Linked DNA regions of Homo sapiens: region 1 is linked to region 2. The links are contacts of gene promoters, found by promoter capture Hi-C in blood cells and fetal thymus (Javierre and others, 2016). All regions are on one chromosome and are shown on one strand. Each heading gives the region's core, a stretch centred on a gene start or on the middle of the fragment in contact. The rest is flanking DNA. Distances are from core to core; before and after follow the strand shown.

Evidence for each region. Contacts are between HindIII fragments. The CHiCAGO score rates a contact against its expected background, and 5 or more counts as called.
Region 1: a contact is called between a fragment that was not itself captured here and the fragment with the promoter of TTC5 in region 2, in 4 of 17 cell types (fetal thymus, naive B cells, naive CD4 T cells and 1 more). The highest score is 7.0, in fetal thymus.

The regions. Positions count from the first base shown.
Region 1 is chr14:20,867,410-20,871,728 of GRCh38, reverse strand. LOC100507513 (a long non-coding RNA gene) reads left to right here. Exons shown (of 4, transcript XR_110261.4): 4 at 1,273-1,494. Among named protein-coding and RNA genes, the nearest start is that of RNASE3, 22 kb to the left of the region's middle. The HindIII fragment of the contact is 5,154 bases long and covers 1-4,319 here.
Region 2 is chr14:20,303,370-20,307,527 of GRCh38, reverse strand. TTC5 (tetratricopeptide repeat domain 5) reads left to right here and starts at 1,577. Exons shown (of 10, transcript NM_138376.3): 1 at 1,577-1,641. The coding sequence starts at 1,591. RefSeq lists an enhancer at 1,432-1,671. The HindIII fragment of the contact is 10,592 bases long and covers 1-4,158 here.

The sequences.
Region 1 (4,319 bases), core at 787-3,286, 560 kb before region 2:
GCCTGGCCAGGTCCACCTCTTGAGCCACACAGATCTGCTTCCCCAGACAGGTTCAAGAGACAACTCCTCCAGGCTTCCTACCAGTCTCTGTTCCTGAAGGGAAACTTAAGAGGAAGTTTACTGTGGACAAACAAACTGTAGTCACTGTCAATGCCGCAGATCTTGGGGCTGTAACTAGCACCCATCCACTCCTTCCTTTACTATGTATTCTAATCTCCCTTTACCCTTAGGTCTTAGTTGCTTATTCTTATTTACCCTCTCACCAGTTCTGAGGGTTAAGCCCTTGGTAATCATATTTTTCTCAGGCTGAGGTGGCTACACACTTACATTCACAGTTAAAATGGAGCATGGGAGTAACAGAAAGCACCCAAGTAGATTACTTGGGTTCTACATAAATTCTTTTCTGCCTCTATTGGGTAAAAGCAGCCCTACCTCCCTCCTGCTAATCAAGGTTACTTAGCCTTGACAGTATGGCAACTCCTCTTCACGTCTGCTGGTCCCTAGACACGAGAAATCCAAAGTGTCCTGGGAAAAGCTGTAGCTTGCAGTTCAATGAGACCTTTCTGTGTAAGTTGGCAAGGGTGCATCTTCTTTGGGGACCTGGACCTTTGACCCTGCAGAGCCTAGAGTTACAGAAATGAAAGCACAACATATCTGAGTGGGTCAATCAGAGAGATGGTAAGTGGAGCTACTCCTGCTTCTACTTCTCGGTTCCTGGATCCGTGTATTCTTCCTATTGGGAACACAGTACCCTTTACAGGCCTCTGATTTAATAAATACACTGCATCCTGAAGAATGATACCCCATACTTTCATAATGTTACCTCTTAGCTGCTGCTTCAGCTGTGTCTTTGGAAAGTCAGTTTCTCTTCTTTCCTCCCTCCCTCCTTTCTTTCTTCTACCCTCCTTTCTTCTTTTCTCTCTTTTCCGTTCCTTCCTTTCCTCATTTCTCTTTCTCTTTCTTCCTCCCTCCCTCCCTTCCTTTCTTTCCTTGAGCTGAAATGGCTTGCACCTTCCTTTTCCCACATAAACACCAATGGACTCTTCCCATTAGTCCTCTAGTTTCTTCCAGAGGTAGGTGAAATTATTGAAGAGACTTCAGCAGAAATTAGGGAAGATCTTCTGAACTGTGATTAAATGGAGTGTGGTCGTTTACCTAATTATCCTTGGTTATCACCTTCTGTGATTGTGATTTTACTTATTAAGCAGCAGAGCCATCTGGCGAAGACCTGCATTACTTTTTAATCTTATGCTTGCCTTTTGTCTTTCCCAGATTTGATAAATGGTTGGTCCTTATGATCCACTGATGCAGACTACTTGGGAGGTCCCAATGTCCTGGTGCCCAAAGGCAAGATCATTTTTCCCCCTGCAGTGTTTCTGTCTATCATGATGATGTGAGTGGGCTCTTATTGGGGGTGCCTAATGCTGCCATAAAGAAAGAGTTTTCTTGGCTTGGTGCAGTGGCTCACGCCTGTAATCCCAACACTTTGGGAGGCTGAGGCAGGCGGATCACGAGGTCAAGAGATCAAGACCAACCTGGCCAACATGGTGAAATCCTGTCTCTACTAAAAATATAAAAATTAGCTGGGCGTGGTGGCGTGCACCTGTTGTCCCAGCTACTCGGGAGGCTGAGACAGGAGAATTGCTTGAACCCGGGAAGTGGAGGTTGCAGTGAGCCGAGACTGCGCCACTGCACTCCAGCCTGGCGACAGAGCAAGACTCCATCTCAAAGAAAAAAAAAAGAAAAGGTTTTATCTTCTGAATTAAGCTGTATCCCTCTGAGCTAGTCAGGGAAATAGGCAATCTTTTTTTCTATGGCTCATAGATACTGGTATCACTGGTTATCACTTGTGATAAGTAAGCAACATCCTTCCTTCATAGATTTATAGCTCAGTGTTTGGCATATGCCCTATAATTATTATCACAAGCAAGGTGTGCAGAGGCAAAGTTTTCTAGGATACAAGCACCTGTCTGTTTTGTTCACCTCTCCCTATATGGCACTTAGCATAGTGCTTGTCATATCAAAGGCACTCAGAAATGTTAATTAAGTAAATATTAGTGATGGAAGAATGTCTTTCTATTGTCTTCACATATGAATAAAAAGGGGGCCAGGGGCAGTGGTTCATGCCTGTAATCCCAGCACTTTGAGAGGGTGAGGTGAGTGGATCACTTAAGTCCAGGAATTTGGGACCAGTCTGGGCAACATGGTGAAACCCCATCTCTACAAAAAATACAAAAATTAGCCGGGCGTAGTGGCACACGCCTGTAGTCCCGACTACTCAGGAGGGTGAGGTGGGAGGATCGCTTGAGCCTAGGAGGTGGAGGTCACAGTGAGCCGAGGTTGGGCTGCTGCACTCCAGCCTGGGAGACAGAGCCAGACCCTGTCTCAAAAAAAAAAAAAGTTAACTAGATAAAACATCCTTTGTTTCTGGATGTCCAAAGAGTTGTTTTTATTGTTTCACTGAAATGTCATGGATTAATATAGTCTGTATTCCTGTATTAGTAGCCTGCTATTACTACACAAAAACATTCGAATGCCTTCTCTTTTGCTGTATTTTAGACATTTTTCAAAAGCCTAGGTTTCTGTGTTGCTTTTGCTTATGCTGAGACTCGGTGATCTCCACCTGTTTCTAAAACCAGCTCCCTATCTCCTGCTGAAGAATGTTCCTTTTGTTCTTTGACTTTTGATTCTGTGTCTTGTGTTTTAAGGTTCAGTTTAGGAATCTCAGTATACTTTAGGTTGATTCCCTGGAATTCAAGTGAGATGCATTTTTTTCTTTTTTTGAGAAATTAATTAACAATTTATGCTAATGTGTGGATGTTTAAGTTCCTGGCATTTGACTGAGCTTTGTAATGTGTACTTTCTACACTGTGGAAAGAAGGAGTTCTAAAAATATATATATAGCCAGGTGCAGTGGCTCACGCCTCTAATCCCAGCACTTTGGGAGGCCGAGGCGGGTGGATCATTTGAGGTCAAGGGTTTGAGACCAGCCTGGCCAACATGGTGAAACCCCGTCTGTACTAAAAATACAAAAATAAGCCAGGCATGGTGGCAGGTGCCTGTAATCCCAGCTACTCGGGAGGCTGAGGCAGGAGAATCGCTTGAACCCAGGAGGTGGATGTTGCAGTGACCTGAGACTGTGCCATTGCACTCCAGCCTGGGCAACAAGAGTAAAACTCCATCTCAAAAAGAAAAAATATATATATTCTCAGAAAGAAAATATATCTATCTATCTATATAGATAGATAGATAGATTTCAAAATATGAATTTTTTTTTCCTATCAAGATAGAAGATCCTGTTAATAAATTTGGAGAACAATTAGATATTCAACAAGTAGACATTGTGCATTTCTACTTAATGGACATCTGTATTGCCAGAATGCCATTGAACATGATCCTGCTTTTAAAGTAGTGGTTGTCCAAGAAAGGAGTACGAGGCTGAGAAGATTCTCTTAGAGTGACAGAATTGCTAGATTGAACAAGTTGATTCAGAATAGGTTGCTATACGTCTCTCTTACGGCTTTCAAGGATTCAGCAGGCCATTCTGGACAAGATCTACAAGAAAACATAGGTGTTTCATTTTGAGTGATAACCAAAGGTTAAACCCAAAACCCTTAGGTTCAGGATTTCAAAGTATAGGCCATACTAAGAGAAAATATTTATGACACATATACACTTGATTAATGCAGCATTTACATTTGTTTCTGTCAATAAGCTAGCAGGGAGCAAGCTAATGTGTAGGGTAATAGTGACAGACATACACCAACTTAAGAGGAACAATCAGTGTCTTACTGTCAGGCTGCCACTGATGCCCAGCTAGTGCATCATTGATCCTCACCTACAAGATTTTCTTCCTCATTTCTGCATAAGGAGGCTAAAGTTACCTCAAAAGCTGGTGGTCGTGGTCTGCAGAAAACTCAGCTTAGCATTCCCCTTTAGAGATATGGGGATACTGATGCTCAATGTTCAATGACAGCACAGCTGCCTGGACTTTATGATAAAACTCTCACTAGAGATTGAAGTTTATAGGAGCCTTAGCCTAGATTCTCATTAGTTCTTCCACAGACTTTCTCTCAAAAACAAGCAACATGTTTATATTACCCACTTTTCACATATAAGCATGTTTTTCCCTTTTAAATAAATTCTCTCAAAAATTACATTTAAAACCACATTTTACATAAACATAGTTATGAAATTTCTTAATAACAACATATTTGTAATTTGACCAAGTGGAGTGAAAACCCTCTATCAAAACAAATGCACTTTAGTGGGGAACGAGGCATCCTTTATAAATACATAAACGAATCATACACAGCACA
Region 2 (4,158 bases), core at 328-2,827:
TGCATGCCACCACACCTGGCTAATTTTTGTATCTTTAGTAGAGATGGGGTTTTACCACATTGGCCAGGCTTGTCTTGAACTGACCTCAAGTGATCTGCCCGCCTTGGCCTCCCAAAGTGCTGGGATTACAGGTGTGAGCCACCGTGCCCAGCCTCGTGTGCACCAAAGTTAAAATGTCTGAGAAAGAGGATGAAAAATTTTAAAGTTTTAGGGCCGGGTGTGGTGGCTCACGCCTGTAATCCTAGCACTTTGGGAAGCTGAGGCGGGTGAATCATGAGGTCAGGAGATCGAGACCATCCTGGCTAACACGGTGAAATCCCGTCTCTACTAAAAATACAAAAAATTAGCCGGGCGTGGTGGTATGCACCTGTAGCCCCAGCTACTCGGGAGGCTGAGGCGGGAGAATCGCTTGAACCTGGGAGGCCGAGGTTGCAGTGAGCCGAGATGGCGCCATTGCACTCCAGCCTGGGCTACACAGTGAGACTCCATCTCAAAAAAAAATTTTTAAAACATCCCTCCCTATTTTACAGCTAACGACATAGATTTTATAGGTTACAATACAAACTATTTCCTTTATGTTGGAAAATGATTTGAGGAAATGATTTTATGTATATTCATGATTTCTGCCTTGAACGTTTTACTTCTTTGTTAGTTTCACAGAATCAGCTTGAAGCTGTAATTAAAACTAAAAAAGTAAAGCAAAACTGCCAGGAATATTACATGACACTTTAAAAGATTTATTCAGAAGTTTAATATATTCACAAGGTACAAACTTTAAAGTTACAAAAAAGGCATAGAGTGAAAAGTCTACCCCAGTTCCCTGGTCACTCATTTTTGCTCCAGCCACTCACTTCTGCTCTTTGTAAGCGATAGTCTTGCCAGTGTCTTGTGTCTCTTTCCAGAGACTATGTAGAAGCAAATAATTTTTTATTTAAAAATGTTTATATTTGAATAGGTGATACATATAGATGGCAAGAAAATTCAAAAGGGCAGGCAGTGAAAATTTTCTTCGCTCACCCACAGTTCCCCAGTTTCTGTGTTTCCCTCTGCAGAGACAGTCATCCTTTCTTATATATCCTTCTGGATGTTGTCTATAAATATGGAGGCATTGTTAGTGTAGAGCATGGTGGTTTTTATGAGCCATCCCAAGTGTAGTATTTATTAAGATAGTGCATTAAAATGATAAAATTAATCATACATAGAAAATTACTGCAAAGTTTGGAAAAGATTGAGTAAAGTAGCTATTGTACTACATGGCTTTCGAAATTTCAAACAACACAGGTGTGCACTTCTTAAACTCTCTTCTTTATGGAGTATTATAATCTTAGTATAAATAAGTAGGAAGACATGAAACAAGAATATAGAAATTAAGCTGAGGACATTTTGTTTCCAGGATCTGGGAAAGAAAGAAGTTTATGAACTCACAAGTGATTGTAGAGCATCTCTGTGGAAATAAATGGTTAAGTCGGTTTGAAGCAAAGCCCTTCTGGGGCAGAAAAGCCTCCAGAACGCCAGATGTCGCTGTGGTTCCGCGGTGAGAGAGGGCGTGCGTCTCTGTGGTTATAAAGTTGGGGGTGGAGTGGCCGGGAGATGATGGCTGATGAAGAGGAAGAAGTCAAGCCGATCTTGCAGAAATTGCAGGTGGGGCCGTAGATTAAATTCTGTATGTGTTTTTGTTACTCCGAATGAAGCAGGGAGTCCAGTTTATGTACTGCCCGTGAATTCCTCGGCACACACGCGAAGCTGCGTGCGTCTGTGTGGTTACTATAACAACCCTCGAGGGTGCAGCCGCAGCCAGCCAGGGAGCCTCGTTGGAACCTCCTGCTGCCGACCTGACTGCGGTTAATTTCAGTCCTGTATGGAAGAAGATTTGTTGCTCCTAACTGTTCATGTACATTTTTAGAGAGGACGTTGTTTTCTCGATTCATCCATAGCGAATAGCATATACATGTGTGTGGCAGATCTGCATGAACTACTGTCACATGTTGTTTTGATCCCTACAAAAGCCATTTAACACCTTTCTGCTTTGAATTTGGCAACAATCACGCTAATGACCTGCACTGCAAGTGTCCTGGTTACTCCCCTTAGGATTTCAGTTTTGATTTCTTTCAACCTGTGTAATTCCACTTTGGGGTCTGATGCAGAGGGGTCCAGACTCCACATAGTCCACAGGTAAGACTAGTCTTTTGGACTTGGTAGGGAGGCGTTAACTAGTTGCTTGGCTCTTTGCCTTTAAGAACCCATGATTTTCCTTACACCTCAGGAACTCAGTTCTTCGTTCTAAGGCAGCCTGTAACTTAAATATTAGAACTATGACAGGCTTGTAACTTGCCTAAAGGTGTTTAACGCACAAATTTAAATACTGGTGAAATTTCTTTGTTCTTGGGTACATTAAAATAGTAACACTTTTTAGAGTGTTCCAGCTGATTTGGATTAACTTCATTTTATTCCCTAACTGTGACTGGCTGAAATCAGAGATTCTCAATTCTGGTTCTATATTAGAAACATTATTTGTGTATATATGTTTGTATATGCACAGAAAAAAATCTGAAAAGGTATACAAATCAGTGGTTATCACTGAGGTTCTTTGGGGTAATTTTGTACTTTCTTTTTTTTACATGTATCTATTTGAATTTTAACAACTTACATGTATTGATTTTGCCATGAAAAAATAAGTTTCTAAAAACATTCAGTCCAGAGGAAAACAAAACCAAACAATAAAACCAAACAACTTCTTGAATGTTTGGTTTAACAACTAAAACCAATCAATAAGCCCTTCTCTAAAACTCTTAATTTGCAGCCATGTTGATTGCAGGACAAAAGGAAATTGGTTGTAATTTTTTATGAGAATTGTCTTTTCCTAGGTTCATTTGTGGTAAATGTCCTAAGCAGCTTGGGAGAGGATACTTCCGTTATCTTGGGGTGGGGTCGGTGCAGGAATGGAATAAAGGAGTGAAGTAGAGAAGAGGAAAAGGATTAGATAATGGTGTTGCTGTTCATGGAGATGGTGGTAAACTTTGATTTCATTGTTAAAGACATTTTAGTGTAAAAAGAGTGTATAAATGGATATTTCTCAAAGTGTGTTTTACAGACAGTTTCATTACAGTCATCTGGGGTGCCTGTTAAAAATGTAGAATTTTGAGTTCTGCTAAACTGTTAAAATCAGAGTCTCTGCAGGCTGGGTCTTGGATATAATACAATAAAATTTGCAGAGGGTGCTAGTCTGTTCCCTTCATTCTGGATAGGATTTTAAATTAAGTATAGCACATATGTATTTGTTAGAACAGGGATAGTTAGTTAGTTAATTCAATCAAGTGTAGTGAATTAGAGCCTATCATGTCCCAAGTCCCGTTCTGGTGCTCAGGTGTAGCTCGAAACAAAACAGATTAAAGGCCTTTCCATCCTGGAGCTTACATTTCAGTGGTGGAGGCAGACAATAGACAATTAATGATAGGCCACATGATTTTAAATAAGTATGAAGAAAAATAAGAGTATGATATAACAGTAGAGGAGAGAAGGAATGGATTCATTTGGGTTGAGTAATTAGGGAAAACCTTTCTGGAATTGATATTTGACCTAAGATCTAAATGATGATGAGGAATAAGTTATGCAGAGATCTGGAGAAAGTGTCCAGGCATAAGGTCTTCCAGGTGGGCTGAGCTTGATGGGTTTGAGAAACTGCATGAAGGCAACTCTGGCTTGAGTATTGTAGGAGAGAGAATGGTGAGAGGTGAAGTTTGTGTCAGGATGGGTGGTGGTAGGTCAGCTCATACAGTCTTCTAGGTCATGATAAGGACTTGGATTTTATTCTGTCTGCAATGGGAAACTATTTGAAGGTTTGTGATATGATGTACGTTTTTTATAAGATCACTCCCACTACAGTGAGGAGAATGGGAGAGAACAGAAACAAGATGACTGGTTAAGAAGCTCTTGCAGTCCAGGCAAGTAATGAAGCTGATGTAATCCAGGAATGGTCATAGTGGGATGGAGACAGGTGGATGAATTCAGGATGTGTTGTGAAGATTGTTGATTACACTCGAAGGGAAGTGATTATATCTTTCTGCTGCTATCTATTTAGTTTCAGGAAAGAATAGGATATCTGTTATCTGAAATGCTTAGGACTCGAAGTTTTTTGGATTTTGGATTTTTTTGAATTTT